2 separate regions of the Homo sapiens genome follow, and region 2 is linked to region 1. Evidence: promoter capture Hi-C in 16 types of primary human blood cells and fetal thymus (Javierre and others, 2016). All regions are on one chromosome and are shown on one strand. Each heading gives the region's core, a stretch centred on a gene start or on the middle of the fragment in contact. The rest is flanking DNA. Distances are from core to core; before and after follow the strand shown. Region 1 holds the start of SH3RF2 (SH3 domain containing ring finger 2). Region 2 has its middle 150 kb from the start of PRELID2.

Region 1 (6,781 bases), core at 2,340-4,839:
GCTTGGAGGGTGGGCACAGACGATAGTCTGATGTTATAAGTCCCTGCAAAAGAATTCCAGAGAGACCCAGTATCTTAATGGCTGTCTCTTATGTACAACCAGCTCTCACCTCAATTCCCTGTGCCAGAAGGGCCCTGAGAATCCTCTATAGTTCAAAAACTTGGTAGCTGTGGATCCATTCATCGCTACCTGTCCTTTGCAACACAGTCACATTGAGAAAGATGTAAACCACAACAAAAATATTCCAAGCTGATAAGGGAACTGCCTCCTCCCAGTGTGACACCGTTTCCTGAGTAAGTGATGATACTCCGCTGAAAGGCAGGTCAGACTTCTGCAAGGTGGGGAAGGGAAGAGGTTGCTAGGTCTTAGGAATTCAAGGGGGATTTGCTGACCCAGAGATAGAGCTCTTTTCTCTACAAACAAGGCATGTTTGAGAACAATTTGCTTCCCCACCCCTACTTCGCCATTTCCAGACCTGTGGATTCTGATTGATGACTAGACCAGGGGTAGTGGAGGGACTTAAAAAGAGTTCCAAACCCTTTTCTGGAATGTGTCACTTACAAGCACAATGGCAATAAAAAGCCTACAGTGAAGAAATCAAGGGTGTACAGTGAAAAAATGTCCTGCTTCTTCCCACCCTCATTGTTGAATGTTTACACATGCGCCATGGGTGGTTTAAAGATGCAGTGAACCCAGGAAGTGGTAGCTCTTAGAAGGAAAATTTCGGAAAGTTGTTCCAAATGCGTATCACAAGCCACTCCTCACTCCTGAGTAAGGAAGCAGTCCTGCAAGACCCTCCCACACGTTATTCCTCTTCAGAGCAGGGAGATGTGGGACACTGCTGCCAGCATTTAGACTCTAATGCTTGCTCTAGGTAAGACTTCAAGGAATGTAGCTTTGATTTTCTAAGTATGCCAATGGCCCAAGCCACAGCTTTCCGTGTCCACTTTTTTACACTGACTCCAGGGGTGACAGTGCAAATAATTCTGCTGGACTCACAAGGACCATGTCCTTCTTTCCAGATGTGCCCTTACACATTATCCCACAACAAGGTTCATAGCCAGGTCAGATAAAGTCCTCGGGGTGTGCTTTCAGCGCTGGACAGAGCGATTCCCATTATCCAAACATGAAAAGCATTAATCTCCTGTGAGGCGTAACTGGGTCTGTTTGGTTTTTTAATTGCAGCCCCTGCTGTGTATCTTCTCTGTATTTCATTCATTTTGCAAAATGAGACACATCTGCAGAGCTCCTATACACAGCTGAAGCACTTCACAGCCCAGCCTTTGCTATCAATCAGTCCACCCACATAGATGCTTCCCTCCTGCACTATCTCCCGCGTCAAGTATCTTGATAGCTTGGAACAGATTATGAATGAGTATTGCCATAATAGCACTTTATGACTAGGGGTGGGAAGATGGATTTGGGTAAAATTCAAACAAAACCTGACATTTGGAAATTTCTGAGAGATCTCAAAAGCAACAAGCAGTTGGATTTGTTTTCTCTCTTTTGTTTCTCCCCACCCTCCGTGCATTTCCCAGGCACTAGTTTGGCCTCAGAACAGCAGAAGTGAAACACCAAAAATATAATCTAAAAGGCTTTCCTTGTTCTACTACTTTCTGGACTAGAGGAAAGGAGAACCTAGGAAGCTTTAATAGTTCTAAAGAGAATTCTTAGATGGATTAGATAGGCTCAGGTTTTCATTGTATTTGAGTAAAATGATCACTGCCCACAGAAACTTATCACTGGGAAATCAACAGCAGCACTCTGGAATGTAACTAAAAGAAGATAATCTCTAGCTCCTTGTATACACAAATCCAACCTCTATGTGGACATGATATTAGCAAATAAGATCTCTCTTACCCCATCCATGTGGATTCTGACATTAGGCACTAGCCGGAAAGGACTGGCCTGCAGACGTCTGGGGTTGGTCCTGCTTTTCCTGCCATCCTGCAAGGTCATCGTGCCAGGCCTGCGGAAGGAGCCCCCTCTCCCGGAGCTCTGCCCTGAGCGCACTCCATCCAGAAGGCGCACGAGCAGCAGGTTGGCCGGCAGCGCCTCAATGTTGGAAAACACAGGCGTCCTGCATTCGGGGCACCGCAGCTCTTTGTGGGCCTTGAAAACCCTCTGTAGACATGGTTTGCAGAAGGTGTGCTGGCAAGGGAGGACTTTGGCTGTGACATCGAGCTTCTCAAAGCACACAGGGCACTCCAGAAGATCAAGTAACGTCAAATCATCCATTTTATTTCAAAACTCCAGTTCCCACCTGGAGGAGCAGCGTCCACATGGTAGGGTCAGTTGAGCCACGGGGGCAGAGCTGGTCTCTTGAGAACGTCAGAATTTTTGCCTGCTTGAAGGAGGGAGAGGAGAGAAAAAAAAATGTGACTGCTCCGAGAGGTATATCCCACCTACATTGAGGCAGTGTCTCATAAGGCAGTTTGCAAGTACTTTGTTCCGGCACCCAAGTTTCAAATGACTCATTCTGATTCAATGCTAGCAGGTATAAGACTCAACTCGTGCTTGCTGTGAGGATCAGAGGGAACATTCAGCACAAGACTGACTGCTTATTGCCTATGTGGACAGGAAAGCAGGGAGATAAACTGGCCTGCTGAAGTGGCCCCCCAACCCCTCTCTACCAGCCAGGGCGGGAAGAGGTCCTTTACCCCCTGCCCGGGGAAAGCTCCTGGACAGTCTCAATTCTTACAACAAAGCCCCCTCCGAACGCAATTTCTGTGAAGCTATCTCCTCCTCCTCCTTCCCCTAAATCTAAATGTATCTATTATCTGCACCACATGCAGATTAGTTTAGGTGGGTAAGTTTATCTGAATCTCATGCAGATGTAGAATTATTTCCTTCACAATATACCTTCCCACATGATTCTAGCAATGTACAAGAAAAATTTCCACTAGAAACCCATTTCCAAAAATTGTTTTGCCTTAACCACAGGTCAGGGTGCTTGGAAGCTTTGTTTCTTTTCTTTTTTCATCTTTTTTTTTTTTTCTCTCCTCATCCCGATTACCTTAGGCTCAGAGACAATGTTCCTCCCACAAGGTAAAGTAGTGCAGCCTGTTTAGTTACTTTGACATTGTTCTCAATTTCAAATGAAGCAGATAGGAATTCTGGATTGTGGTCACGACCTGTAAAAACCGTACTGGGGCAGCATATACAGGTAGGGGTCGTGTGTGTGTGTACTCTGAAAACAGTACTTGTTCCAGAAACAAGTTTCCTTTTGGATGTATGAAAAGAAGCCTCCAGTTTAGAAAAGTCTGGAAGAAGTCAGCTGTCCCTCACAAGTGCCAGGGCTTCGGTAAGCACCGAGCCCAGAGGTTTGGCGAGAAGGCCAGTGGCCCCACTAGCGACTAGTAAGCAGGACAGACACGACCGAGAATGAGCGATGGCGCCTCGCCTTCCTAAGCCTCCTCTCCAAAGATGTCAGCGCGGCAGCGGGCTGGGGAGGCGTGTGGGGGCCACTAACCTTGTGCATGTAACTTCTGCTGAGTTCAGCTCAGCCCCCTCCTCCGCGCAGCAGGGGTGCGCTGCGCCCTCCAACCGGCTTCCTTTCCTCCAAGCGCCGCTGCTGCCAACCGCTTTGAAAACTTTAACCACTCAGTCTTACTCATTTCAAGGGATCGCCTTACCCAGCCCTGTTAACGCTTTCACTGCCAGGGCGCTGCCTACTTACCACGCTTTTGTTGTTGCAGTTGTTAACTTTATGATCTTTCCTTCAGTTTACTGAATTGCTTCTGGGAAAAGATTGTAAGAGGTAAAATATAAGCCAGTCCCTAAGGCCAAGTATTTACAAAGTTCATATTTTCACCTTTCCCGTTTTCTGTAGTATCCAAGGAGTCAGAACCTGCTCCATTATAAACATACCAAAGTGATTGTGTTTATTTTAAATCTTCATAAGGATTTCCTGGGAAGGTCAAAAGTAAAAATGGTCAAGCTATGAAAACAAGGATAAGTCGGACACCTAGAAAATATTGCTCTTTGAAAATCATAGTCAATCTCTGAATTTAGAGATAAGAGGGACTTTAGTGATCTTTTTGCTCAATCTGTTTAAATTAAAAAACTAGTGTCACGTATATACACATACGTGAAAAATCAAAGCACAGAGAAGCTTTTTCAAAAAAGGAAAAGCAGTGGCCTCCAAGCTCTCCTCCTGCCTGTTATCCACTGTAGTCTTTTCATATCCTCAGATTATGCCTATATTTCTATTTTTTGATTTATCGATAATACATTTCATGTAAAATTACAAAGGTATCCGATTAAGTGAATAATAACAATCTTAATGCCAGGGTAGTCCTTATCTGTGTCAACCACTGTTCTAAATACCTTACCTGTGTTAGCCCTTTAACCCCTTAACAACCCAAGGAGACACTAAACTATTCTTTACTTTCATCTTGCAGATGAGGGAACTTGAGACACAGAGAGGATAAATAACTCATCTCGGGAGTCACAGCTAGCAGAAGGCAAGTGGGCTGTGCTCTTAACAATGTCATGGAGTGATATAACTTTAAGAGGCTGGCCAGGCGCAGTGGCTCATGCCTGTAATCCCAACACTTTGGGAGGCCGACGTGGGCAGATCACAAGGTCAGGAGATCAAGACCATCCTGACCAACATGGTGAAACCTCATTTCTACTAAAAATACAAAAATTAGCTGGGCATGGTGGTGCGCACCTGAAGTCCCAGCTACTCAGGAGGCTGAGGCAGGAGAATCGCTTGAACCTGGGAGGCGGAGGCTGGAGTGAGCTGAGATCGTGCCACTGCACTCCAGCCAGGGCGACAAAAAAAAAAAAAAAAAAAAAGAGGTGAAGAGGTGGTTCAAGGGAGCTAAGCCTCCCCTAAGAGGGCAAGAGGTCAAAAGATAATGGACAAAACTGGCTACTCACTTTCTCTTACAGATGAGGCAGCTGTGCCCAGAAAGATCAAGGGATTCTTTGAAGTTGTCCAGTGAGTTAGGGGCAGAATTGGGACTAGAAACTAGGTGTTTGAGGCCAGGCGCGGTGACTCATGCCTGTAATCCCAGCACTTTGGAAGGCTGAGGTGTGGGTGGATTGCTTGAGGTCAGGAGTTTGAGACCAGCCTGGCCAACATGGTGAAGCCCGATCTCTACTAAAAATGCAAAAATTAGCTGGGTGTGTTGGCTGGGAGTGCTTGGGAGGCTGAAGCACAAGAATCACTTGAACCTGGGAGGTGGAGGCTGCAGTGAGCTGAGATTGTGCCATTGCACTCCAGCCTGGGCGACTAAGACTCCGTCTCAAAAAAAAAAAAAAAAAAAAAGAGAAAGAAACTGGGTGTTCTTTTTAAAATTATTGTTATTACTATATCTTCTCTCTAGACGTAAGGATGACAATTATTTATTATGCAGAGAGTGTTCAGACACAGCTCAATGGGAAAATCTTAAGAGGAGACCAGGAGGTCTGAAAACATTGTTTACATATTTTTCCACGTTCTTTCATGTTAGTTCCAAAACATCAAACATGCATGTGGCCCAGAACTTTAGGATGGAGCCGATGGTTATCTATTTTCTGAGCACGGAGGCCTAATTTTGATGTAGGACAATTTCAGAGACCACTTTCAACTATTACTTTTTTAACGTCACTTTTGAGCTTTGATAACATCACATCCCATTCTGCTTGCCTGTCTCCTTCTATTAATTTCTACTCTTGAGTCTGTGCCACTAAGGAAGCTCTTGAGGTTTACTGTCCTCTTACTCTGTTTCCCACTTAGTAAAGCTGAGTCAGTTTCCTTTGTGCCCTGCAGTGGTCTCACTCCGTAAAAAGGGCCACTCCTATGCTGGAACTCCTGTTGCAGAGATTGGCGATATTTTTCATTATTCTTTCTCTTGTTCTTAAACACACTCTATCTCCCTTACATACTCATATCTGCACCTATATGCAGATGCATGCATACACTTGTGTAAGGGTGCACACATACATAATCTTAATAATAGTAACACCTATGGAGCACTTGCTGTATGCCACTGACCAATGCTAAGATTTTAAACATATTATCTCATTGAATTCTCCCAACCACCCCGTAAGATACTGTAACTTTCCCAGGGTTACAAACCTTGTGATCTGAACTCAGGTTGGTCTAATCCCGGGGCCTGTGTTTCTTTTCATTTTATAAAATCATGTACATATCATAAGTACACCCATGTATCTTTACTATTTAAATCTGCACATGGTTACACATATACCCATATTGTACACACCAGCTGATCTCAGAGCCAACCCAAGACAAAATATTGATGTCAGAAAAGGAGATTGGGCCCCTCTGGGTTGTAGTCTACCCATCTCATGGCCCCTCCACACCCCTGTATGGTCAATGGTCTTAAAAGCTTCAAACCTTCCCATCCCTGAGAAAATGCAGTCAAACCAGCTCAGTCCCAGGAAGGCAGACTAGATCCAGTGGGTTACTCTTGTAGCAAATCTGGCAATTGAAAATCCAGCCAAGTAGAATCGTGATGGTAGAATTTTAGGTTCTAATGGAGGACAGAGAAAAGGTACACTGAAGCGAGGGGTCATCTTTCAGCACCTCTCAAACGACGCCCTGTAGGTGGTCCCCAACACCACCCACATGAGGTTAGTCTTGAAGAGAAAATTTCTTGAAACTTTTAAAGAAGGGCGAGAGTTTTAAATGGGGATTTGTTCTGGCTTACCCAAATACTACCTTGGCATCAAATCAGATGAACATGTAGTCTTTAAAAACAAACAAAAAGGTGAACTATGCATACCTCTTCAGACTCCAGGCCACCTCCCTTCTCCCGCTGTTCCCACC
Region 2 (6,781 bases), core at 1,081-3,580, 250 kb after region 1:
CTGCACCATGCAATGAAGAAACAAAGACTTGGGAGTCTGAACTTGATTTAAATCTTGGCTTTGCCTCTAGTTTCACTGGGAGATAGAAACCTTGATAAGATTCTTAGTTTATTAATCTGTAAAATGGGACTAATAGCACTGACTTTATTTATTTAAATGAGGTAATTGATTTAAAGCATCTAAATATTTAATTGATTTAAAGTTAGGAAATACTGGTAGTTTGTGGACAATGATTGGATTGACAGATCTGATTCTACTCATTTATTCATTTAGTCATTAAAAAAATCATTGAGCATCCCCTAAATGCTAGTGATGCATAAGCAAATACATTAGAAAATGTCCATGCTGTCATGGAGTTTCTACTGGAAAGAGACAATCTGAAAGGTAACACATCGATAAACAAAAGAATGACAATTTTGTTAGTTGATTTAATCATGTCCTTTATAGCACTTTTATTTTCTGATCCAGGATCCAGTCCAGGATCACATGTTGCATTTTAGTGGTCATATTTCTTTATTTGTCTTTATTCAAGAATAAGTTCCTAGGCCTTTCCTTGACTTTCATGACATTGATATTTTTGAAGAGTCCAGGCCAGTTATCTTGTAGATTGAATCTCAACCTGGGTTTGTCTGATTGTCTTTTGACGATGTGCTTTTTAAGGCCATGCAGGAAGCAAATGGCAGAGCTAAGACTGGGACCCGGCTTTCCTGACCACATGTCTTGTGCATTTTTCTCTTAAAAGCTGCCAAGAGACTTGGAGGTCAGAAGACCCCCCATAGTTTCATCCCCAGAAGAAGAGTCCCATTAACACTGCCAGGTTGTTAAATAACAGTAGTATTGACATGGTAATAACCAGAGAGAACACCTTCTTCCAGGTTAACCTGGTGATCTTCTTGGTCATCATTTAGCATCTCCAAGTCTGAGTGACAAATTAAAAAAAACCTGTAATTATTTTCATACTTTTTTGTCATCATCTCTCTAGATGACAATTTGTCTTGCTTTAATAGAAGAGCTGGAAAAATCATTAGGGAAATTAGATCAAATGTGGGTAAAATGCCATAAGATCATTTCAGTTCTATTATGATGCATTTTTCAAAACTATAGGACATTGAACAAAATGCATTAAAATTAAAGAAAAAATTTTTTATTTGGAAAATTCTTTTTAAAAGCTGAACAATTACTGCAGCTAATCTATAATTTACCCAGATGTTGGGTACTTTATTATATTGACATGCTGCAAGTTAGCTCACTAAATTTTCTCCAAGAAATGGCGGAAACAAAAGGGCAAGTAATTGGTGCTCTGAGCCCATGGTCTGCTTCCCGTTTCATGAATGGGACCACAAGTACATTTTAAAATTTGTCCAGATGTTGTTTTAAAAAAACACGCACACAAATAGTCTTCAAACTAACCCTAAATGGACTCTGCCTTTTCACAGCTTTCTTATTTCTGGTTGAATGTTTCTTCTGCTGTTCCAAAAGTGGGATTAGAAGACGTTTTTAGGTGGGGCTGGGGAAAGACCCTTCCCCTGTTTAGATCTTGTTGCTAAGGGCATGGTGGGGCTGGGTGGTGAGGGGAAATTTCATCTATTATGCATCTTATTAATGAGAAGGCATACATATTGTTAGACTGTTTATTTATATTATAAATATTCATTCGAATTTAGTTATTGAAAATCCCCCTTATAAGCCAGGCACTGTGCTAGGCAGTGAATTTAAAATGAATAACTCAGATGTGGTCCCTACCTACAGGGAGTTTATAATCTTGTGTATGTAGGGTTTGGGTGAGGCAATTCTATTGGCTGAGCACAGGATGCTACAGGAAGGCATGTAACAGACTTAGGAGGGAGGTAAAGTGAGTGGGTTTACATGTGTAATTTCCTCTGTAACAGACACTTTTACCTATGATGAATAACAAAGGCAGAAGAGAAAAGCTTGATTTGGTGAAGAATTTATACATCGCCATGCTGTTCATTCCCATGTAACATGGGAAACCCATGACAAAGGGCTTTTCAAAGAATGGCGATATCAGGGACCAGGGTGAACAGAGAAGTCAAGCAGCTTTTTTGGATCCTTCCTCAGAAAATCTTGGAGGAGATTCCTCACAGAACTCAGAGTCAGAAACTGTCCAGGATAGGGAAGCTGAAGAGCTTGAAGTTTGTTTACCTTCTCTTCTAGGTGACCCTCTGCAGAGGAAGGCTACTTTCTCCTGTGGGTCAGCGGCTTTCTACCTCTTTTCTCTATACACTGGGACTCCTGCTTTTTACAGTGGTACTGACTTAATATTTACTACAGGCAATTGTTTTCTGGTCTCTCTGTCTCTCTCTGATTAATATATAGAACTTCCCTCTCTACACTCATAGACAATGTTTTATAGCACTCCTGAAACAGATGTGGGACTGCAATGAAGCATTATACTTGCTTTTGTAATGAGTGTTGAGGGTAGGAAAAAAATGGTCATGGAGGAACTTCAATGTGATGAGGTTTAGGTTTGTCCTCTAAATTCTTATCTATGCCAGAGAAGGCTTCTGCAAAGAAGCAATGTCCAAGCTGAGACTTGAAAACATTAGGGTAGAAACTGGGCTCTAGAGAGCAAGAATAACATTTGCAAAGACCTAGCGACTGGAGAGAACATGGCGTATTACATCAGAGAAACCGAAAGTTGTTCAGTATGCCTTATGGAAGAGTGAAAACAGGGAGGTAAGAGGTGGCTTTGGTAATTGAAAGCTTTGGAAGCCTTTGAGGCCATGGGAAGCTACTGAAGCCACATAAGTGGGGAAGTGGTAGGATTAGATTTATATTTCAGAGTAAGAATTCTGACTGCAGTGGAATAAAAGGTTTAGGGGCAAAGCTGAAAACAGAGAGACTAACTGATTCTCTCAATGTATTGGGATAGTGGCAGTCAGGATGGGGACAGGCAGAAGAATGGCAGAAATATTTTGGAAGTAGAAGCAACAAGACTTGATGATTAATTGGATGTGGACAGTGAGGGAGGAAGATAAATCAGAGACCAACAGCCCAACTTTCTTCATATCTGTCTTATACCCCAACCTTGGTCTGGACTTTGAAGCCTCCTTCCATCTTCAGTTTTTCCTAAAGCTGTGACCTCAAATCCTGGCATTGACCTTAGACTCCATGATGACTGTTATTGCCTTAGTGGTGCCAACAGCACCCATGACTACAATCTGTACTCCAAATGCTGGTGCTGGTCATTACCTGCCCCCAGGATTGGTTCATCCATGTGTTTCCTTCCTGAATATACAGCCACAGGATGATAATGGTGGTTAAGAGCAGGGACTTTAAGTGGGATGGATTTAAGTTCAAGTCCCAGCTCTTCACTTACTCTTAGTTTGACCTTTGGCAAGTCACTAAACATCTCTGAACCTCATATTTTCTCATCTGTGAAATAATAACAGAACAACTATGAGGATTAAATGAAAGCATGAATGTGAAGCACAGTGCCTGCACATGGGCAAGCACAAAATGAAAGCTAACCAAAGAGAGGAACAAGGAAACAATAAGAAGAGAGTGATAGGTTTTAGTGGGGTTTTTTTCCTTTCTCTCCCACGACCTACAGTCTGAAACAACACAGGATAACAAAAGCATCCATTTGGATAGAGAGGAAGAGGAAGAATCTCTTTTAGCAGGATTTCATGAAGGAGGTCCACAAAGAAGAGTTTATTCTGATTGCGTAAAAGTTCAGATTGGTTTGTTGAGCCTGGACTAGAACCAAAGCTAGGGCCCAGCCCATCGAGGCTTCTTTCACCCCTGGACTATTGACTCTTTTCATGTCATTTTTCTCCTCTACATACATGTTCTTCCTCATTGTCTTTGTTCAAATCTCAGTCACCATTAACTCTCTTATCCTTCCCCCTCCTGCTCTTCCCCTTTTGTCTCTTTTCACAAGGTAGCTCTAAAGCATCTCTGTATTTGTCCGGTTCCAGGCATGGCAGGATGTAGAAGTTAACATTTGTTGGAGACTGTTTTGCTTCCTGGAATCTCCCCTCTAGAAAACTTTGTGTCGCTCTGCTTACAAACCTGGTATATCCCTGAGTAGAGGCAGTGCTATTAAAACTCAGTAATAATAATAATACCAATAAGCAATGTGCATCAGTGCACTCTGCTGTTCTATACAATCAGCAGCTCGTTCTACTGGCCAGTGACCAAGCAGCCCCCTTTGTGATTGGTCAGCTCCATGCCATACTGGTCGTTATAGGTTGAACTGTGTTCTCCCTCTCTCCTACAATTCATGTGTTGAAGCCCTAAACTCCAGTATCTGAGAGTATCTGTATTTGGAGATAAGGCCTTTTAAGAGTGATAAAGGCAAAATAAGGGCATTAGGGTGGGCCCTAATCCAATGTGACTAGTGTGCTTTTAACAAGAGGAAATGTAGATATGCAGAGAGATACTAGGGATGCATGCACACAGAGGAGAGGCCATGTGAGGACATAGCGAGAAGGTGGCCATCTGAAAGTCTAGGAGAGAGTCCTCAGAAGAAACCAAACATCCTGACATCTTGGTTTTGGACTTCTAGCCTTCAGAACTATGAGAAGATAAAGTTTTATTATTTAAGCCATCCAGTTTGTAGTATTTGGTGCAGTAGCCCTAGCACACCAGTATACTGGTTATGATATTTTTTGGACTATCATGTTCAATAATAACAGTTTTGTTGATTGCTGAATCTATTCTAGGGGTAGTATAGAACACATCATTACATCTTTAGTCACTATCTAGGTATTATCCTTATTTTGCAAATGGGAGAACTCAGGCTTGAAGAAGAAAATGACTTACCTAAAGTCAAAGTCACAGAGCTAGTAAAGGACAAATTCAGGCTCAAATCTAAATCTTTCTGACACCAGTACCTAGGTTCTTAACTGTTCTGTACTACCTAGAAATACTGGTCTTCTCTGACTGCTTTCACCCAATATAAACAATGCTCTGTATTTTTCTCTGTGGCTCTCTGGTCTTTTTTCCCCTTTGGAGCATGAGCTACAATTTAGAATCATAAATTAATTATGTGATTATTTTCTCAATGCCTTCCTCCCCTGCTAGTCCCATGATGTAACACTGTGCTTATAATCATGAAGATGATGTTAGTTTTGGAACCAGCAGTGTTGAAAAGCTTCTTGATTTTTATGCCAAGTGAAAGCCAGCCAGCCCTTTGCATATGGTGAAATGATCAACCTCGATGGTCATTGGCAAGTAACAGGAACCGCTGCTGGGCTCTTTAATTTATACCTTGATATTGTACACATGTGGCCTCAGGAAGGGAGCGTGTCACCTAACCTTCCCACATGGTGAATACCAGCATTTCCCTCCTCATGGCTGCTGTCATGAAGAGCCCTGCCTGGTCTGGCATTCTCGGACTTGTTTTTCCATTTAGAAATGCACTTCAAGGCAGGAAGCTGTGAGCCACTGGGTGCACCCTTGGTGGCTTTTCTCTGCTTTTCCTGACCTTCTACCCTGTTAATACATCTGGGCGAAGTGGCAGCAGCTTATTTCGGATATAATGGAGCCTACAAAAAATGAAGCCAGGTCTGTTATACCAGATTGTGACTCCTCAAAGAACAAGATCCCAGCAGATACTTATTGTAGACGTCACACTGTGCTAATCACCTAGTTCAGCCAATGTCGTATTATGATGATAGTGGTTATTATTTTCCCAGTGAGGTTCCCCCATCAGAGGTGGAAACTGTACATTTTCCTCCCAACCAAAACTAATAGAAAAATTCTATCTACTTCCCAAGGACTGAATTTTTTAAAGACAGATTATTTTTCTCTTTGTGGCTTTTTATTTTTAGGTTTCCTCCTCCCTCTCCCCACTTTTTTCCATTTAATGCTTTCATACAGAATGAATAGTATTCTACATTTTTATATTCTAAACACCACTCCTGCATAATTTTATTCAATTCTTTGTTGGTCTTTTTTTTTTCTCCAAGTTATGGTTTTAAAAATAATCTAGAACTAATTTGTCTAATGAATATGCAATTATTGCAAGAGTCTTTTGAAGTTTTTGAAAACCTTCAGTCAGCATCTTTCTGGGACATGGTGATGAATGTAGCATCAGGCACTTGAAAGCCATTTCTAATTTGGCATGAGCAGGTATAATTTTTTGCACATTTCAAAGCTGGGTATGATGCAATATTTACTGTGTACTTATGGTTCACTTAGTGTAGTTACTTTCTAGCCTAGCTCCCTCTGCTGGATGAATGGATGCACTATTGCTACTGGGGCACACTGGGGTTGAAACAGAAGCCAGATAGGATAGTCAAGGCAGGAGAGAAGGGGGTGCAGTTTGGTTTTGCCACTGCTCATGCCCAGAGCTTACAAATAATAGCTACCGTTTATGGTGTGCTTATCCCATGCAAGACACTTTACGGATGTCTTAATCTTCACTTACACATAATCCAGAAAGCAAAGGAATATTATCACTATTTTATAAGTAAGGAAAATAAGACTTGAAGAGGTTAAGAAAGTTTCCCAAGATCACACAGGTAGTAAGTGGCAGAGCCTTCATAAACATTTATCCTGGAGCACATTTTCTGTGTGAGGCACTGTGTAAGTCTAGAAATGAAGTTGACCTGGATTTTACTCTCAGAGTGTTTATCTTCCTGTACAAGAGAGAGAAGACAAACAACCATATCATGTAGCCAAGATAATTCAGAAAAAAGAAAAATAGAGGGCCATTCCATGGTAGCAGAAGCAAAGGAAAGGGAGAAAAATTTCCATCTCAGTAGAGAGAAAATTTTATCCTCAGAGGAGCACTGGTTTCCATTTTCGCTCG

What was found. The method cuts DNA at HindIII sites, captures the fragments that hold promoters and counts their contacts. A CHiCAGO score of 5 or more calls a contact.
Region 2: a fragment that was not itself captured here is called in contact with the fragment with the promoter of SH3RF2 in region 1 in 2 of 17 cell types (M0 macrophages and M2 macrophages); the score reaches 8.1 in M0 macrophages.

What each region holds. Positions count from the first base shown.
Region 1 is chr5:145,933,386-145,940,166 of GRCh38, reverse strand. It overlaps SH3RF2 (SH3 domain containing ring finger 2), which reads right to left and starts at 3,589. Exons shown (of 10, transcript NM_152550.4): 1 at 3,473-3,589; 2 at 1,861-2,344. The coding sequence starts at 2,238. It overlaps LOC107986458 (a long non-coding RNA gene), which reads left to right. Exons shown (of 4, transcript XR_001742913.2): 4 at 4,404-4,466. RefSeq lists an enhancer at 3,274-3,851. The HindIII fragment of the contact is 1,154 bases long and covers 2,963-4,116 here.
Region 2 is chr5:145,681,208-145,687,988 of GRCh38, reverse strand. It overlaps a transcript of PRELID2 not described here. Among named protein-coding and RNA genes, the nearest start is that of PRELID2, 150 kb to the left of the region's middle. The HindIII fragment of the contact is 793 bases long and covers 1,934-2,726 here.